Regions from separate parts of the Homo sapiens genome. Here all the other regions are linked to region 4. The links are contacts of gene promoters, found by promoter capture Hi-C in blood cells and fetal thymus (Javierre and others, 2016). All regions are on one chromosome and are shown on one strand. The core of a region is centred on a gene start or on the middle of the fragment in contact, and the rest is flanking DNA. Distances in the headings are between cores, read along the strand shown.

Region 1 (3,377 bases), core at 352-2,851, 530 kb after region 4:
TTGGTTCAATTAATGAGCCATAAATAACCCAATGAAGGTGTCAACAAAGAGGGTAATTTATCATACCTTGTCAAGACGGCAAGCTTTGTGAGGCAAGCGCTCATTCACAGTCTGGTGCAACATGTTAAGATTTATTCCTGGCCAGGTCCCTCCTCCTCCAGCCCTCCCTCCCCCTATCAAAATTTATCTTTCACAGGAATCCTCACAGGTGTGCTGCTTTGACAAATAAGCTATGAAGTCTGGTATTCATCACTGGCTGGTCTTTGTTGAGAGGAAGGCAGCGGGAAATAAATTTATGTTAGAGGGAAGGTACTTGTGATTCAAACACACTCAAGGGGAGCAACGAGGTTATTTCCATCCTCCTGGTTCTGCAAAAGGCGAGAAGGAGATAATGCTAGGACAGCCACTTTCTTCAGTTTTTACTACTTGATGGAAGAACAGCCAGGACTTTACTGAGATGCGCACTTAGCTGTCAGTCTGGAGGCTCCAGTCGCATTCTCTTGAAAATGTTTGGTTGGGAAATCTTACAGTGGAGTAGAAAGTGCTACAAGACATCTGATATGCCCAGAATCGCCATATCAGGAGGTTTTCCCGCTTCGCTCTTCAACTTCTGGCTTCCCTTGGAGTGCTCATCCTGAAGTGTGAGTTTGCATAATAGCCATCTGGGAGTGCTTGCTAAAATACTGATTCCCAGGCCTCCCCTCCAGCCCCCAGAGATACGGACCTGGGAAGTCTAGGGAGGAGCCCAGGAATGTGTATTTTGACAAGCTCGCCTCTGTTCTTGCCTTCAGACGCATATGGTTTATGGAGCACATTTTGGATCAACACGTGCTGCTTAGAGTCTCTGGTGCATGCCTCTGAACTTTCTGCAATGATGGAAATGCTCTCTATTTGTGTTACTTAATACTGCAGCCACTAGTCTCTTGTGGCTGTTGGGCCCTTGAAATTTGGCTAGTGTGAGAGAGGAATGGAATTTCTTAATAGTATTTAATTTTAATTTATTGAAATTTATATAGCCATGTGGCTAGCGGCTACCATTTTAGATGGTAGAGCTCTAGCCCATCATTCTGCATAGTAGATACAGACGAAAAAGCTCAACATAAGACCTGATATGCCAGTCTCCTCCTACTCTACCCTATTTTCCAGCTAAGAAATACTCCAAGTCCCTGGAGTGTGCCCTATTTAGTCATTTCTAAACAGGAAGAGGGAGGAGCATATCCTCCCACCTCCATTCTCAAGGTCTATATAAGCCGAGAGACAGAAAGATCCAATTTCTTAAGTGCCTTCCATGTGGGACGGTGGGAGGCATCTTTGAGAATTACATATGGTCTCCCAATACAGGGAGGGAAGACAAATATACAAGTGACCCAACACCAGGTGGCCCACTATGAAGCTGTAGAAAACACCTATAGATGCAAAGTGCCAGGAGTCCTCAGCCTCCCCTAGCAGATGTGAACACTTCCGGACACCAGCCATTCCCTTCCCACTTTGGAATTAATGCAACAGCCTTGTAGCTCATTATGCCCAATTCACTGAAGGAAGTTAGACTTCTGAATTCCTTCCTTGAAGTGTCCAAGGTAGGTTTCCCACTGTCTGCCCTGTTGAGATGGGACCCACCTCTGTGGTTACACTTTGTATGTGGTGACTGTCATCACCTGCTCATCTGCTCACCTGTAGACTTTGAGGTCCGTGAGCAGAGATTCCCAATCATTTATCTCTGAGCCAAGAGACCGACCCTGGTGGGGCAAAACCAGTATGTTCTAAAATGAAATGGCCTCACATCTGCCTATATGAGGCCTCTTACGTCTTGCTTAAGGATAAAAGTGGCCCTTGAAAAACAGAAAGTGGTCTGTTCTCTGAGGGTAAAAGGGTGTAGGTGTTCCCTTTCTACAGTGTTATGAGAGGGACTTACCCCTTAAATGTGTATTTTAAATGGCAGGGGGAAGAGGGGGAAGACCACATGGAAGAGTGACTGGTCCAGGGTCTGGGGAAGAACTCCCTGTCTGTGAGAAAATTCCACCTGGGAAAGAGAAGGTGAGTCTGCCTAGAGCAGCAGATAGGCTCCAGGTCCATAAGTGGGGCCAGGCAGGCTTACAGGAGTAGGAGGCACGGAGGCACATTGGGAGGTAGGCTGTTCACTGCCCAGAGGCACAAAGCCCCTGTCCCAGAAGTGAAGGGCAGCCTACAGGCCTCCACTGGATGCCCTGCCACCCACGAACAGCCCCTCCCTGCCCAAGCACTCTTCCTTACTCACTCCTCTGGCTCCATGGGGAAGCAGAATCCCAACTCATAGCTGCAGGAGGAATAGCTGAAGAGAGAAGAGGCCTGGCTTCAGCTTCCAGAGCTAAGCCCTGCCAATCTCCCAGACTCCTGCAGTCTTTCAAGTCTCCGACATTTGATTACTCCTTTCTTCTCATGAAGTGTCCTTATTTTGCCTCTAGAAAACAGGCACTGGTATCAAGAGTTGCATGGCTGATGCCAAGACTTAATGCTCCAGAGTGTCTTGCACAGGGCCAAAGCTGCCTCTTCTGGCACACACAGAGTTCTACAGAAGGGCCCCCTTATAGGCCACCAGCCACTGTGAGGACCTCATAAGCAAATGTAAGGGCAGGAAGAGATGGGACATGGTCTGGCAAAAACCTCAGCCTTCTCCCTAAGCTCTTCTGCCTTATGAGGCTGATAGCTCAGACTCAAAACAGTTGGCTGAGTTCTCCAGCTAAATATTCATTTCTCCAGCTAAATATTGATTCCTTCAATATTAACACCATGTCAGGGAGCCATGTTAAGCCATTGCCTCAACTTGGCACTGCAGCTAAACATAATGAAATGCCAGAAATTAGGGTCTAGAATTGATTATGGTACCAATTCTAATCCTGAATTCTCAAAGCAATATCTAGAAAAATATTGAATCAAGAGTTTTTTTTTTTAAATGAAGATCCTATACTGGAGGGAGATGGGCAACTTCTATTTGGAATAACAAGCAGTATCAATGTCTTTGAATTCACCTTGAAAACCAATCCTTTGGAGTAGAAAGAATTCATGGTATTTGAAATGTCCAAGATTACTAATGAGGGGAAAATCTGAGGGACCTGAGAAGGTGGGGTTGCTTGAGAAGCAGTAAAGCTTCTCAAAGAAGAAATGGAGATGCCATGAGCAGCTGCCTTGGACCAGATTCCAAGGCAGTGTCTTGTAAACTCAGCCACGATTAGGGCTGGGTCATTCTGGACCGTCCTAAAGAGAAACCATTAAAAACCATTAATTCCTTCAGATATCACAGCTGCTTACTCATAGTAGCTCATTCATAGGTAAGGAAACTGAGATCTCCCTAAGATCAAATAAGTAACAGGTATGTTAAAAAGTTTCATTTGTTTACGTGT
Region 2 (3,459 bases), core at 333-2,832, 650 kb before region 4:
CCAAGTGGGCTCAGCTAAGAGCACAGAGTGTGAGAAAAAATACCCTGGCCAGGCGCGGTGGCTCACACCTGTAATCCCAGCACTTTGGGAGGCTGAGGTGGGCAGATCACGAGGTCAGGAGGTCGAGACAATCCTGGCTAACACAGTGAAACCCCAATTCTACTAAAAATACAAAAAATTAGCCGAGCGTGGTGGTGGGCACCTGTAGTCCTAGCTACTTGGGAGGCTGAGGCAGGAGAATGGTGTGAACCTGAGAGGCAGAGCTTGCAGTGAGCCGAGATCCCACCACTGCACTCCAGCCTGGCCGACAGAGCAAGACTCCATCTCAAAAAAAAAAAAAAAAAAAAAAGAAAAGAAAAAGAAAACAACAGTGACTATATAATTTTAGTGTGAGGAATGCCTATTTAAACATAACACCAAAGCCAGAAACACACACACACACACACACACACACAAAGAAAAAAGAAAAAATACCCTCACCTCCAAGAAGACCAGATTTTTATCTTTTTATTTAAGTATTCACAGACTTATTTCCTTTTTATTTTTATTTTTTATTGTTTGAGATGGAGTCTCACTATGTTGCCCAGGCTGGAGTGCAGTGGCACGATCATGGCTCACTGCAGCCTCAACTTCCCGGGCTCAGGTGATCTTTCCACCTGAGCCTCCTGAGTAGCTAGTACTACAGGCATGCACCACCATGCCCTGCTAAATTTTGTATTTTTAGTAGAGACAGGGTTTCACTATGTTGCCCAGGCTGGTCTTGAACTCATGGCCTACCAAAGTGCTGTGATTATAGGAGTGAGCCACCATGCCTGGCCTCCTTTTTATTTTTAAAGAACATATTTGCTTGTATCAACATAAGAACAGTGCTTCATATCTCTTTCCAATTCATATTATTCTGTCATGTTTTCCCAAATTAACTGCATGCAGGATTTCTCCTCCCTGTTCGCTTAACATGAGCAATGTAGGGGTGAATTAGAGCTGCACTGTGCCCACAGCTGGTTGAGCCCCAGCATGCTGTTGGGGACCAAATTGGAAGTGATGGTAGAAGCTACAGCAGGATAGATTTTTCTCTGTGCGAGGAAAGCATTCTCGTATGTAGAGCTACTTAAACACAAAAGGGGCTCCCTCACAGGTAGTGGATGAGCCCCGCTTTTGGAGAAGTGTTGATGCATCTCTAGGCTCCTTCAGAAGGAAAACCTACACCAGGTGGGAGGTTGGAGGAGTGGACTTGCAAGGACTCCTCCAGTTCTCTGATTCTGTGATCCGGTCACCTGGGGTCTTTTCATTGAACAAATATTTATTGAGCCCTTACCGTGTGACATGCACTGTGTATTGAACACCTCTTGAGCGCCACTTCAGGTCTTCTCAGACTTGCCTCTTGTGCCAGCCACAGCTGTGGTGCCCAGTTCCCTGCAGACTTCAACAAAGCTCCACAGATGCAGCCTGATGGGGCTTCGCCTCTGGCCTGCAGCGTGAGCCTCTTTGCTTCCTGCCCTGGCTTCTCTACAGCTGTGTCATCCGTTGGATTCCCAGGGGAGTCCACTTGGCACTCAGACCTGTGCAACCCGGAAGGGTGGAGGAGTTAGAGCTCCATAAGATACCTGGACCAGTGGGGCATGGGGTTCCTCCCACTTTCTTCTTCTGAGAAGACGGCCTGAGAGGCATTTCAGAAGTCTCCCCAGAAGGTCCTGCGGGATCCACCTGTTACTGCTGCAGCAGTTGACTTGATAATGTGACCTTGTACTGCTTCTCCCTCCTTTGCTCTTGCCCACTGGTGTCACAGTCTCAAATAACTATTCAAATACAGGCTTTGTCTTCCACTCCACTTTTGGGGAAATCTAGGCTAAGATAATTGTAATAGGTGATAGGAATATAGTATTGATCAAAATAAATGTGACTTCAGTTGGCATGGGGATTATAGTCTTATGATATACGCTACCATGAAGGTCTATATTTCTATTTCATCCACAGGGAGAAAGAGAAATACAGGTGCTTGGTCACTGCATATTCATGGGGGGTTTGATAGTTATAAGATCTTTCAGAGACACCTTTATCATATAATCTTGGCTGAAATTTTACTAGCACTGTTATTCACAGTTTATCATCATAGAACCTGAGTAACAGAGGTGTGAACCAGCTGTTGAAGCCTACATTCATTAGATATGCAATACGATCTAAGAAATTGGAAAATAGATTTACTAGAGTCCTTTTCAGATCAACATATGATATGAGCCTTTGGGTTTTTAAATTACTTCTTTGTAATTTATTTTGGGGATACCTTCCTAAATGCTATTATTTGATACTAAGTTGCTGGTTTGGAAGTTTATCTTTGGCATAAAATGGAATGTTCTGGCTGGGTGTGGTGGCTCACACCTGTAATCCTACCACTTTGGGAGGCTGAGGCAAGTGTATCACTTGAGCTCAGGAGTTCCAGACCCGCCTGTGAGATCCTGTCTGTACAAAAAATACAAAAATTAGCCAGGCATGGTGGTGCGAGCCTGTGGTCCTAGCTAACTGGGAGGCTGAGGTAGGAGGTTTGCTTGAGCCCAGGAGGTGGAGGTTGCAGTGAGCCAAGACTGTGCCACTACACTCCAGCCTGGGTGACAGAGTGAGACCCTGTCTGAAAAAATAAAAATAAAATAAAGTGGGATGTTCTTAAGTTTCTTATAAAGTATGACTTTTTTGTAGTTTAATTTTTTTGAATACATAATGTATTCATATGGTTAAAATTCCCCCTCCTGCCCTCCATGTCCTCCAGTTCATATTCTCTCCAAGAGGTAACTAGTTTTTAGTTTCTTATTTATTCTTCCAGAGAATTTGTATGCATATTAGAATCAACACACATACATATTTTTTTGCTTTTTAATTTTGTTTATTTTTTTAATGGTAGTACACTATGTTTGTCATGGATCTTGCTGTTTTCTCTTAATATATCTTTGAGATCTTTCCATTCTATTATATAAATAAATTCATTCATTTTATAGCTATAGAGTATTTAATTGTTATATATGTTGCAATGAGCTATCCTGTACAAATGTCATATTTACATGTGTAAGTATATCTGTGGGGTAAATGTTTTAAAAGAGAAAATGCTGCATTAAAGACATATGCGCTTGTCATTTTGATAGCCATTGACATATTGCTCTTTGGTGGCATCGTAGCAATTTGCATGCCCACTGACAGTATATGAAAATGCCTATTTAGGCATAAAATGTTTACTTTTAAAAATTAACAAATGATTTACATTCTATTATAAAAATACATGCACTCGTATGTTCACTGCAGCACTAGTCACAATAGCAAAGACATGAAATCAGCCCAAATGCCCATCAATGATAGACTGGACAAAGAAAATCTGGTACACATACACCACGGAATACTATGAAGCCAAAAAAGGAATGAGATCATGTCCTTCACAGGGACATGGATGAAGCTGGAAGCCATTATCCTCAGCAA
Region 3 (3,737 bases), core at 558-3,057, 700 kb before region 4:
ACAGTGATGCATGTACACTGAATCCTCTACACTGAATAGTATACAAGATCTTCTACACTCAACAGGGGTCATTACAAAAATGATTCTTCACTGAAATAATTAATGCTCTTGCAAAAGTATTAATACATAGTATCTGCATGCTTGGTTTATAATTAAAGTAAAGATTAATCTTGATGAGGGAAGTAGATTTCGCTCTTTCTTCTGTTCTTCAGGATATGAAATGTTAGTAACACTGTGATCAACTATATTTAGAAAAACATGAATAAGCAATAGCCTCCAATTAGAAAAAAGCAGTTTGTTTGATTGATTGATAATTTTAGTAGTGATAATGTTTTTTAAATTATTTTTGGGGTGGGTAAGTGGAAGTAAGAATTGATCAACTAAAGCTAACTGTTTTGCGGTCAGTTTCAGTCTCCTTATCCAGATTAACACAAAATTAGATATAACACTGTCCTTCATCAAAGCATTAATCATTCATTCTGCATCTTTAGAGTCAAAGTGCAATCTTATTTGTTTAGAGAAAACAAATGCATTTCAAAATACACAAGTAATTGTTGGGTCAATTGGAAATTTTATTACATTTAACAAAACAAAGCACTGATATGGCTCTATGTAAGGCACATGCATTTTTATTTAATACAAATATAAAAATTAAAAGGTGGCATCTAATTCACTGTTGCAATGGGTAAATGTTCTACAAGTATATTTCCAAAAATAGTTTACATCCTAAAAGTAACTTACTCAGCTGAGAGAATCTAGGTTATTGTTTGTATTTTGAAACATGGGAACTCTGTAAATTGATAAAAATGTACTGAGTTTTAAAAATGAATTTCAGTATAACTGAGAAGAAAATATTAAAATTGTAACATTATTTCTCATTTATGTGGTTCCTTTATGATAAAGAAGGAGAAACACCTTCTCCTAATACAATTGCTAAAACACCAAATTGTACTTACTAGGAAAAAGAAGAAAGCTTTCCAATTTCAGGTATATACATAATAGGGAGAAATGAAATGCGAAGTTTAGTATGAATTATCTTCTTTAAAAGATCCTTAATATCTAACATCTAGATTCTTTTTTTTTAGTGGAATACTAATTCCTTAGCAGATTACTCATTTAATATGAATGATTTTAATGTAAGACATAAACACACACATACATGAATGAGATGCCATTCCATCTATATGCCTTGTGTGTAGTTTGAGGTATGGGGGCAGGATTTGAATCAGTAAGATGACTGATGCCTGAAATTACATTATTCATCTTTCCTTAATTAGCTTATGACACTGATCCATGTTAAAATGCAATTCTTTTTCATAGAAGGGCTCAACACATAAACCTTATGCTAAAATGGAAGGCGTGCGAACTTGGTTGGAGTTAGGAGAAGCATTTTAATTATTATTTTTCTATAGTCTCTGTGACCTTAGGCAAGTTACCTAACTTCCCCTGACATTGTTTCCTTATCATTAATTTCTGACGTACCTATGACTCATCTAAGTTAGCATTGTGCCTGAAGCTGAGATGATTATTTCCTTGATTTTTAGAAATTCACTAAAATGTTATGTGAATGTTTAAGTACAAGCATCTGAAAATTATATTTTACATGTCTATATTCTGTCTTTTCAAAAAATGGCATAACACAAGAAGACCATCCAAATATGTACATAATTCCACACCAGGTAATAGGAAAGATTTTAAAAATCTGAATATTTACAAAGTATTTTGGCATTTACAGTTTTCAGGTTTGCACAGTATAGGTGAAAGAGCCCTGAACTCAGAATCAGCAAATTTTCTTTAAAATTTCAATCCGACCATTGAATTTGTAGATCCTCCTCCCCCTACTCCCTCCCACTTCATTCCTATCTGCGTTACCTAAGACTAGAAACCAGGCAACAACATATGAAGAAACAGATGACAGTTTCAGGCATTCCCTTGAACTGATTGTTTTTTGTTTAAGTCCCATTCTGAAAATGCAGAATTCCTTCAAAGTTTTGTCTATAAGACTGCCTCTTCTTTTTTGTTCTTTTTTTTTTTTTTTTTTGAGACGGAGTCTCGCTGTGTTGCCCCAGCTGGAGTGCAATGGCGTGGTCTCTGCTCACTGCAACCTCTGCCTCCCAGGTTCAAGCAATTCTCCTACCCCAGCCTCCCGAGTAGCTGGGATTACAGGCCTGTGCCACCATGCCCGGTTAATTTTTGTATTTTTAGTAGAGACAGAGTTTCACCATGTTGGCCAGGATGGTCTTGGACTCCTGGCCTCAAGCGATCTGCCCGCCTCGGCCTCCCAAAGTCCTGGGATTACAGATGTGAGCCACCACGCCTGGCCAAGACTGCCTCTTCTTGTAATAGTTTTTGCTTCAGTTCCTTATCCAACCTGGTGGTATAGAGAACACATGCTGAAATGTAATCACTTGAAACTTGCTCTTTTTTTCATTTTAATAATTGTTTTTTGTGTTTTGACTATTAAAAAAACCACTCCCTAGCAAATGAATTTCTTGGCTCAGCTATATATATTTGTAAAGTATTAATAAAAACGTGTGTATTTTTAGGTTCTTCTAGCTAGGGTACAATATATTTCCGAAGGTGTCCTAGGGACCTCTTAAATAAGGAATCTTTTTGTTAAATTAACAAATCTATTCAAAATTAAGCTTCTTATTTCTGTTTATTTATTTTTTTTAAGTCACAGGTTGTGGTCTTCACTGCCCATCTTCTCCTACACCCTTATAAAATGGTTTGGTATTTCATTTTTGATCTAGGAAAGAATAATTCATTTTTATCTTCATTTAATTTTAATAGTCAAGGAGTAGTCTATAAAGATTGAATAAATTTAATCCTTCTGCAATTAGTGTCAAGTTAATTCATTCTGGATGTGAATAACTGAAGAAATACAGACCCTCCCACACACTGACAGACACCTTTATCAGGTGTAATGTTTTATGTAAATGATTCTACTTGAAAGGAAGTTGTCTTGTTTCTCCCTCCTCCCTTTCTGTCCTTGTTAATTGTTTTTAAACCTAAACTTTCTCTCCGCATTTTCTCAGGACTATAGTACCATTCACTGGATCAACTGTGTTGATCCTACAAAGGTAACACATTTTGCCGCTGATTTGACTCCTTTGCACAGAGAAATTCTTCAGTTTTTCCCCTCTCATAAAAGTTCACAACCATGTAACTTCTGTGGGTTGCTCCAGCAAGGATATGATCAGACCTCATGAGGATTAAAAGGATCTGGGTATGTCTCGTGTGCAGCAAGCAGATAGGATTATTGTAAGCAGCCTTTTGTCTCGCCCAACACGATCCATCTGAATCATCCCAGATTTGATCAACCCAGAGATGACTTCTCTGAGCCAGAATATTTTCCCTCCTATGGAGAAGCCAAGATACAAAAATCTATCAGGCAGGTTAACATCTAAAACACTTAAAATAACCTTTCTGCTTTTTTTCCATTAAAATCAACACTTGAGGTTATATAGCTGGTGTTCATATAGATTTTAAAATGAACCACCTTAATACATAAGGAATATAACAATCTAATATACTTTTAATTTCAGTGCAGCTATAAAGGCATACTGGCTATTACTAACATGACTCATCAAGTTTTTTTAAAAGATAATTTAGTTATCTCTTGTCAAGTCACTATTTAATGTTACTTTCTACATTTGCTGTGATAAGCATTAAAATCTATATATTGGTTGATAAATCATTGTTTAGGAGTGTCTAAAGGGTACAGTAAATGGTAT
Region 4 (3,878 bases), core at 806-3,305:
AAGAAGGGAAGAAATTACTAAGCAGGACTGTGTTAACACTCCTGGCCCTTGCCCATCAAGGGCACCTCTGCTGCCCCAGTCTTACCAAAAATCTTCCTTAATATTGCCTGAATATTGCTGCTTTACATTCTATAAATTATAGATCTGTTTAGGTGAACGAGGGTTTTTTATTATTATTATGTATTTATTTTTTGAGACTGGGTCTTGCTATGTTGCTCACATTGGCCTTGGACTCAAGAGATCCACTAGCTTGAGCAGCTGGGACTACAGGCCCACGACCACGCCCAGTATCGTTGTTTTTTAAATAACAAGACTCCTCTCGGTTGCTGAGGCTCTTAGGACCACCAACCATTCCTAACTTAATGAATATCGATTCAATCTGCTAGTCTCTAGCTGGATGCAGGTCCGCCGAAATGGGAAGGAGGAAGGAATGCAGCGTAACTGGACCGGCCTGGATGGCTGTTGTAATGCGTCACGGAAGAGCCAGAAGAGCGTCTCTAAGGAGGTGGAAGGTGGAAAAAAGAAAGTGGAACAGGGGCAAAGACATAATTTTCCAATTAAAATAATTTACTCAGTGTCAACCTTAAAGCTAAAAAAAGTTCCAGAAAAATATTTCAGTGATTTAGTCTTCCTACACACACATTGCCCCTCACTACCCTCCACCTCCCCACCACCAATCCCATAATCAGGCAGTGCATGTTAAAAAGGTCTTTCAGGGCTAGCCTGGGAACGTCAGCACCTTCTGCAACACTGTTTCAGTGGGAAAGTGCATTCTGCATTCCAAGTCACCAAGTTCCAGACAGGCACAGTAGCACACACGTGTGAACAGAATCCATCAGTACAGTCTGGGGCCCAGGCCTTTGCACACCAACAACTTAAGGTTCTTGGTAATGGCCCAGCGTGCACCCATGAGGCCACTGCTCTTTTACACACGCACTCAGAACACCCACAGCTTTAAAACGGCAATCTTACTACAAAAATGACACTTTGCATTTGCACAGCACTTTGTTTTTTGTGTACTTTACACATTTATTACCTAATGACTGTGTTTTTTGAAATCTCCAATAACTCTGGGTGGTGGTAAGAATAGGCATCCTTAAGCCACCTTCCCAGATGAGGAAACTTATCTGTGTTCCCCTCCTTCTTCTCAACAGCCGGCTGATGGAACCCAAGCCCTCCACACCAGCAGTGGGGCCAGCTGCACAGAGCGGCCAGAAGGGAGAGGCCCCGGGGCCACGCCCTTCTCTCTACTCTCAGTTCCTGACTCATTGTCACATCATGGCGAGTAACAGGACAACCCTCCCCACAGAATCATGGGGGACACTACCTTCCTGAGGCCAATGTGTTCAACCAAGCGGGAAACTCTCCGGGTAGAGTGAAATCCGAAGTTGCTATGCTACAAGATAACCTAGAGCAAGGGGAATAACTGACGTTTTAATGTCTTCTTTTATGGGGGGCTGAGGGGTGCCTACTCACACTCCCCCCTCTCGTCTTCCCCCGCTACTTCCCTCCTGCTGGTCGGTTCAACTCCACAAGCGCGCGTTTGTTTCGAGTACAGTAACTTAGAGCAGATGGGGGGCACTTTCTAGAGGGCAGTGGAAAGCCCACTTGCTACTGCTGCGCCGGGGACCTGCGGCTCCCTGGGCGGCCACGCCCTGCCTCGGCGGCGCCTGGCGCGTCTGGAATGCGGGGCCTCCCTCCGCCCCTCTCCCCACGCCGCCTCGCCCCGCTCCCGCTAGGGCTTCTTAGAGAAGCCCGACCCCCCACCACCTCTGCCCTGCACCCTCCCGGCCCGAGGGCCGGTGGCCCCTCACCCCTGCCCCAAACACCTTGTCCCTGAGCCCCCTCCCCAAAGACTCTCCAGTGCCGGCCGTCCCTTCAGCCCCCTGCCCCCGACGGCCTCCGGGGCCAGTTGCCGGGGCCTCCCTGCCAGGCCGTACCCTTCTTCCCAGCGTCTCCACACCCCGCTAGCTGGCGGCCCATCGCGGGCGGGCAGGGCGCGCCCCGCTTACCTGGGCCGTGCGCCGAGAGCTGAGAGCGTCCCCAAATGCTGAGCAGAGCCGGCTGGCCTGGGTGGGGCTTTTATACCCGCCACATCCTCCCTAGGCGAGGCGAGGCCCGCCCCGCCCCGCCCCGCCTCCCCCTTACACGGCCCGCTCCCACCCCAAGTCAGGGGTGACTCACCCCGGCCCGCCGGCCCGCAGGGACCGCGCCCTGGAACGCTCCCGAGCCGCGCCACGCGGGAGCGGCCCCAGCGCCCCTGGCCCTGCCCTCCGAGAAAGCCCGGCCGAGGCTGCCCCGAGGCCCACAGGGACCCCGTTTCTTCCTCCTTTCCTCATTTTACTTCTTAAGTGCCACGTCGAGCTCTCAGCCTCGGCTTGGGTTAATAAATTAACAAGACTTTAGTAGTAGACTCTGGGCTTGATTAAGTGTTTTTTTTTTTTTTTTTTTTTTTTTGGCGTTAATGCAATGGAGGAAAGAATTGTTCCAAGAAACATAAATCTGGACTCCCCTGAGCTGGGGCTGTTGGCATCCAGCGCCCCATTACCGTCTGCAAACATGTCAGCTTAACCTCTGGCCGCCAGTTCCCGGGGGGCGCCCGGGGAGGGAGGGAGATTCGCCCTGTGCTGCAAAGCCTGGCCCGCCCCGGCCTCCGAGGGCCAGGAAGCCCCGAGCCTGGGCTGGGAGGCCAAAGCCGGGAGCCAGGATCCCACCTCAGTCCCGCCCAGGGTGGCGCCCCTGTCCCTAGCACGGCTGTGCTCCGCTTCTCTCCGCGCCTGGGGCATCTCTGCGCGGCCTCGTAGCAGGCAGTCCTGAGCGGGGTGGGGCCCATAGCTTTGAACCCGGAGTTTCGTGTGTGTGTGTGTGTGTGTGTGTGTGTGTGTGTGTGTGTGTGTGTGTGTGTTTCGAACCCGGAGTTTCAACAAAGAACTTTCCTCTCCTTCTTTCATGACTGCTGGGGTGTGTGTGTGCGTGTGTGGTGTGTGTGTGTGTGTGTGTGTGTTTCTTGCAGCCGTTTAGCCAACTCCCTTGCTCGGTGTTGCTGTTACTCGCTTTTCTTCCGAGAGAGAGAGAGAGAGAGAGAGAGAGAGAGTTTCTTGCAGCACAGAGAGAGAGAGAGAGAGTGAGATAGAGAGTTTCTTGCAGCCAGTTAGCCAACTCCCTTGCTCGGTTTTGCTGTTTCTCACTTTTCTTCCGTGTGTGTGTGTGTGTGTGTGTGTTTCTTGCAGCCGTTTAGCCAACTCTCTTGCTCGGTTTTGCTGTTTCTCGCTTTTCTTCCGTGTGTGTGTGTGTGTGTGTGTGTGTGTGTGTGTTTCTTGCAGCCGTTTAGCCAACTCCCTTGCTCGGTTTTGCTGCTTCTCGCTTTTCTTCCAAGAGTCACGTTGGCAACGTGCAGGCAGACACCTATTTGTTGTATGTGAGACGACGCAAATACTGTATTCGAACCTCAAACTAACAGGAAAGCGACGCTGAGAATCCCGAGGATCTCTGGCTGCGTTTTTTAAACCCCTCCTTGCACACTACTTCCTGCAGCTCTTTTTCCTGGTTTTGATGATTCTGTGTTTCAATCTCCCATTTATCTTAACATCCATTTTTACTTTCCATTTGAGCGTCAATTCACTCCTGGGAATCAGAGAATGATAGCAAGGCCAACAGACATTCAGTGCTCTGCCCACTCGCATAGAGTGACACAGGCAAAGTCGGCCACAGCTGAGGTCTTTTAACCCGCCCAAAGCTTTCTGTTACCCAGCGCTTTCACGAGGAATTATACGCGATGGGCCCTACCACAGAGCCAAATAGAAAATCAAGCAACACTTTGGGTACAATTGCTGATTTACATTTATAGCTCTTCAATTTAGCCTGAAAGCTTCAAAGTC
Region 5 (3,328 bases), core at 580-3,079, 510 kb after region 4:
CTTGAGACTAATTGGAAGGGGAAATGTCAATGTTGACATCCCCTGACTGGATTCCCTAAACCACAGTGGAAACTAACCCAGAATCTTAAAAATGCTGGCTTCCAGAAAGCCCTATTCTTATCAGGAAATGTGAATATTAATCCCAGGCAAGTCACTTAGCCACTACTGTTTTTCTTTGCCATCAGATAGTAATAGCCATCTGCGGTATCTTTTTTCAGAAAATTATTTGGAAGATCAAGTAAATAGAGTAGAGCATTTTAACTAGTGAAATACTCCTCTTATTCAATCACAGTTATTCTCTGCAGTATGTGGAAGCAGGTTAACACCATCTACCTCAAAACAACTTTGTGAAGTTGGGGGTCCCGTTTTAGACATGGGAGGACTGAGACTCAGAGAGTTTAGGTGGCTCATCTAAATTCACAAAGAACTTAGAGAGAAACAGACAAGGTACAAACCCAGATTGGCTAGTTCCATCTCATTTTCTCCATGGAATCACATGGCTTCTCTCTTGATACATGCAAAATGCTTTTAAAGGTTAAAAGAGTGATACTGTAACAACTAATTGAATTCATCCCCACACTGTCAGTCATGTCAATATTTAGGAGTTCACACTTCTCTCCATGGACATAAATCATCTTTATGAGGCTCTGGCTGTTTTTTTTTTGTTGTTGTTGTTTTTTGGGTTTTTTTTTTTTTTTTGAGATGGAGTTTTGCTATTGTTGCCCAAGCTAGAGTGCAATGGCGCGATCCTGGCTCACTGCAACCTCCGCCTTCCAGGTTCAATGATTCTCCTGCTTTAGCTTCCTGAGTAGCTGGGATTACAGGCGCCCACCACCATGCCCAGCTAATTTTTTTTTTTTTTTTTTTTTTTTTTTTTTTTTTTTTGTATTTTTAGTAGAAACAGGATTTCACCATGTTGGCCAGGCTGGTCTCGAATTCCTGACCTCAGGTGATTCACCTGCCTCAGCCTCCCAAAGTGCTGGGATTACAGGCATGAGCCACTGTGCCCGGCTGACTCTGGCTGTTTTTGTAACTACAGTAAGCTCCTCTGTGACGGAAGCTCCTAGTTGTATCTGATTCACTGGTGGACTGATGGAATGCCTGGACTAGTCTTCAACACACCTTCTGCTCTCAAGGCCATTTCCACGGCCATGTTTGAGAACATCAGATCAACCCAATTTTCTGTCATACTCAGTCAGTTGACTTTACTGGCGGACAAAATAGATAGTTGCCTTCCTGTTGTGATTTCTAGGATCTTAGGGGAAAGCCCTTCTTCTTCACTACCCTTCTATCCCTTCCCTTAAGGTTTTAAATCCTTGAATGAGGATTTTAAAAATCATTCTAGAATGAAAGACAGGTTTAAAGTGCAAATATATTAAAAAGCCAAGGACGCATTCTTTAATGAGTAAGTAAAATACTAAGCAATTCGTTTTGGGAGAAAGAAGGGCTAAAAGAGAAAAGTGTCAGGTAACGGATTTTTGATTTTTTTTTTTTTTTTGAAACAGTCTCGCACTGTCCCCCAGGCTGGAGTGCAATGGTGCAATTTCGGTTCACTGCAATTGCCAACTTCTGTGTCCAAGTGATTCTCGTGCCTCAGCCTCCCAAATAGCTGGGATTACAGACGTGCACCTGGCTAAGTTTTTTTTTTTTTGTATTTTTACAAAATACAAAAAAGACAGGGTTTTGCCATGTTGGCCAGGCTGATCTCGAACTCCTGACCTCAAGTGATCTGCCCCCATTGGCCTCCCAAAGTGCTGGGATTACAGACATTAGCCACCACAACCTGCCCAGTAACTGATTTGAGGGAAGGTCACAGAGGTGGAGAAAGGGCACAACAGGCATATTAGAAACTCCTCAGTTTGTCCAATATTTTGCTTAAGGCAATGCCTGTTAAACTCTCTGAACCAGACCAGGTGCAGTGGCTCACGCCTATAATCCCAGTACTTTGGGCGACCCATGTGGGAGGATTGCTTGAGGCCAGGAGTTTCAGACCAGTCTGGGCAACATGGCAAAACCCTGCCTCTACAAAAAAAGAAAGAAAGAGAAAAAAATAGCCAGATGTGGGGGGGCTGCATCTGTCGTTCTAGCTACTTGGGAGGCTGAGATGACAGGATCGCTTGAGCCCACGAGTTCAAGGCTACAGTGAGCTATGATTGCACCACTCTATTCCATCCAGCCTGGGCAATAGAGGGAGACCATGCCTCAAAAAAACAAAACAAAACAAAACAAAAAAACAAAAAAATCACCACCTCGCCGGGCATGGTGGCTCACACCTGCAATCCCAGCACTTTGGGAGGCCGAGGCATGTGGATCACGAGATCAGGAGATCGACACCATCTTGGCTAACATGGCGAAACCCCATCTCTACTAAAAATACAAAAAATTAGCCAGGCATGGTGGCAGGCGCCTGTAGTCCCAGCTCCTCAGGAGGCTGAGGCAGGAGAATGGCAGGAACCCGGGCGGCGGAGCTTGCAGTGAGCCAAGATCGTGCCACTGCACTCCAGCCTGGGTGACAGAGCAAGACTCCATCTCAAAACAAACAAACAAACAAACAAAACAAAACAAAACACAACAAAAAAAATCACCACCTCTAGGTGCTAGAGAAACAGTGTTTGGGGAATCCATTAACAGGTGTGATTTAAAAATTTTTTACAACTGCTTTACTGAGGCATAGTTTATATACCACAAAATCCACACATTATAAGCATCCAATTTAATGATATTTAATGATTTTTAGTAAATGTATAGAGTAGTACAACCATTACCATAATTTAGTTTTAGAAACAAGTTCAATTTGAAAAAAATAGTGCTTTGAAAAGGTATCACTGCTTGCCCATTATAGCACTATAGGGTTTATTCTTACTGATAATCTGCCTAAAGTAGGCTCCACAAAACACTGGGTAAGGGCAGCCACGCTTTGGAGGACTTCCTCTTTCCCTGGCTTCTGAGTGATTATGTGCTGGGATTCAGGAGTGAGCTCAGAGCTCACCACCTCGTGCTCAGGCTCAGGGAGGGGCCCTTGGTGTGGACATGGAAATCCCTGCCATGTCCATAGCCTCTATGCTCACCACCTGGAAAGTTACAGAGAGCTCCCAGTTACACCTCTGGTTTCTAGAGCCAGTAGAGCAAGCCTGTGATCAGCCCCTCCACCCCAGCCTCCTACAGCCACCTCTCCCAGGAAAGCCTAGAGGAAATTGGCCAACGTCTTGGTATTCCATTCTGGTTGCCAAGTGCCCTTATTGTTTTTGCATTTCTAAGAGACTGTCAGTACAACTTCCCCCGTGACTGCCACGTGACAGGCTGTGCTGTCCTTTATCTCAGGGCACCA

Evidence for each region. The method cuts DNA at HindIII sites, captures the fragments that hold promoters and counts their contacts. A CHiCAGO score of 5 or more calls a contact.
Region 1: a fragment that was not itself captured here is called in contact with the fragment with the promoter of ANXA2 in region 4 in 1 of 17 cell types (activated CD4 T cells); the score reaches 7.9 in activated CD4 T cells.
Region 2: a contact is called between a fragment that was not itself captured here and the fragment with the promoter of ANXA2 in region 4, in 1 of 17 cell types (naive CD4 T cells). The highest score is 5.3, in naive CD4 T cells.
Region 3: a fragment that was not itself captured here is called in contact with the fragment with the promoter of ANXA2 in region 4 in 9 of 17 cell types (M2 macrophages, erythroblasts, M1 macrophages and 6 more); the score reaches 8.4 in M2 macrophages.
Region 5: a contact is called between a fragment that was not itself captured here and the fragment with the promoter of ANXA2 in region 4, in 3 of 17 cell types (activated CD4 T cells, total CD4 T cells and naive CD8 T cells). The highest score is 6.3, in activated CD4 T cells.

Annotation. Positions count from the first base shown.
Region 1 is chr15:60,929,118-60,932,494 of GRCh38, forward strand. All of the region lies in intron 1 of RORA (RAR related orphan receptor A), which reads right to left. Among named protein-coding and RNA genes, the nearest start is that of RORA-AS4, 170 kb to the left of the region's middle. RefSeq lists an enhancer at 2,828-3,377. The HindIII fragment of the contact is 3,040 bases long and covers 82-3,121 here.
Region 2 is chr15:59,745,467-59,748,925 of GRCh38, forward strand. No RefSeq gene overlaps it. Among named protein-coding and RNA genes, the nearest start is that of BNIP2, 58 kb to the left of the region's middle. The HindIII fragment of the contact is 4,439 bases long and covers 1-3,459 here.
Region 3 is chr15:59,698,819-59,702,555 of GRCh38, forward strand. No RefSeq gene overlaps it. Among named protein-coding and RNA genes, the nearest start is that of BNIP2, 11 kb to the left of the region's middle. The HindIII fragment of the contact is 1,672 bases long and covers 972-2,643 here.
Region 4 is chr15:60,395,931-60,399,808 of GRCh38, forward strand. It overlaps ANXA2 (annexin A2), which reads right to left and starts at 2,056. Exons shown (of 13, transcript NM_004039.3): 1 at 2,013-2,056. RefSeq lists enhancers at 402-993, 994-1,585, 1,079-1,128, 1,189-1,238, 1,259-1,448 and silencers at 1,609-1,748, 1,819-2,358, 2,479-2,788. The HindIII fragment of the contact is 5,260 bases long and covers 1-3,734 here.
Region 5 is chr15:60,910,222-60,913,549 of GRCh38, forward strand. All of the region lies in intron 1 of RORA (RAR related orphan receptor A), which reads right to left. Among named protein-coding and RNA genes, the nearest start is that of RORA-AS4, 150 kb to the left of the region's middle. The HindIII fragment of the contact is 5,670 bases long and covers 1-3,328 here.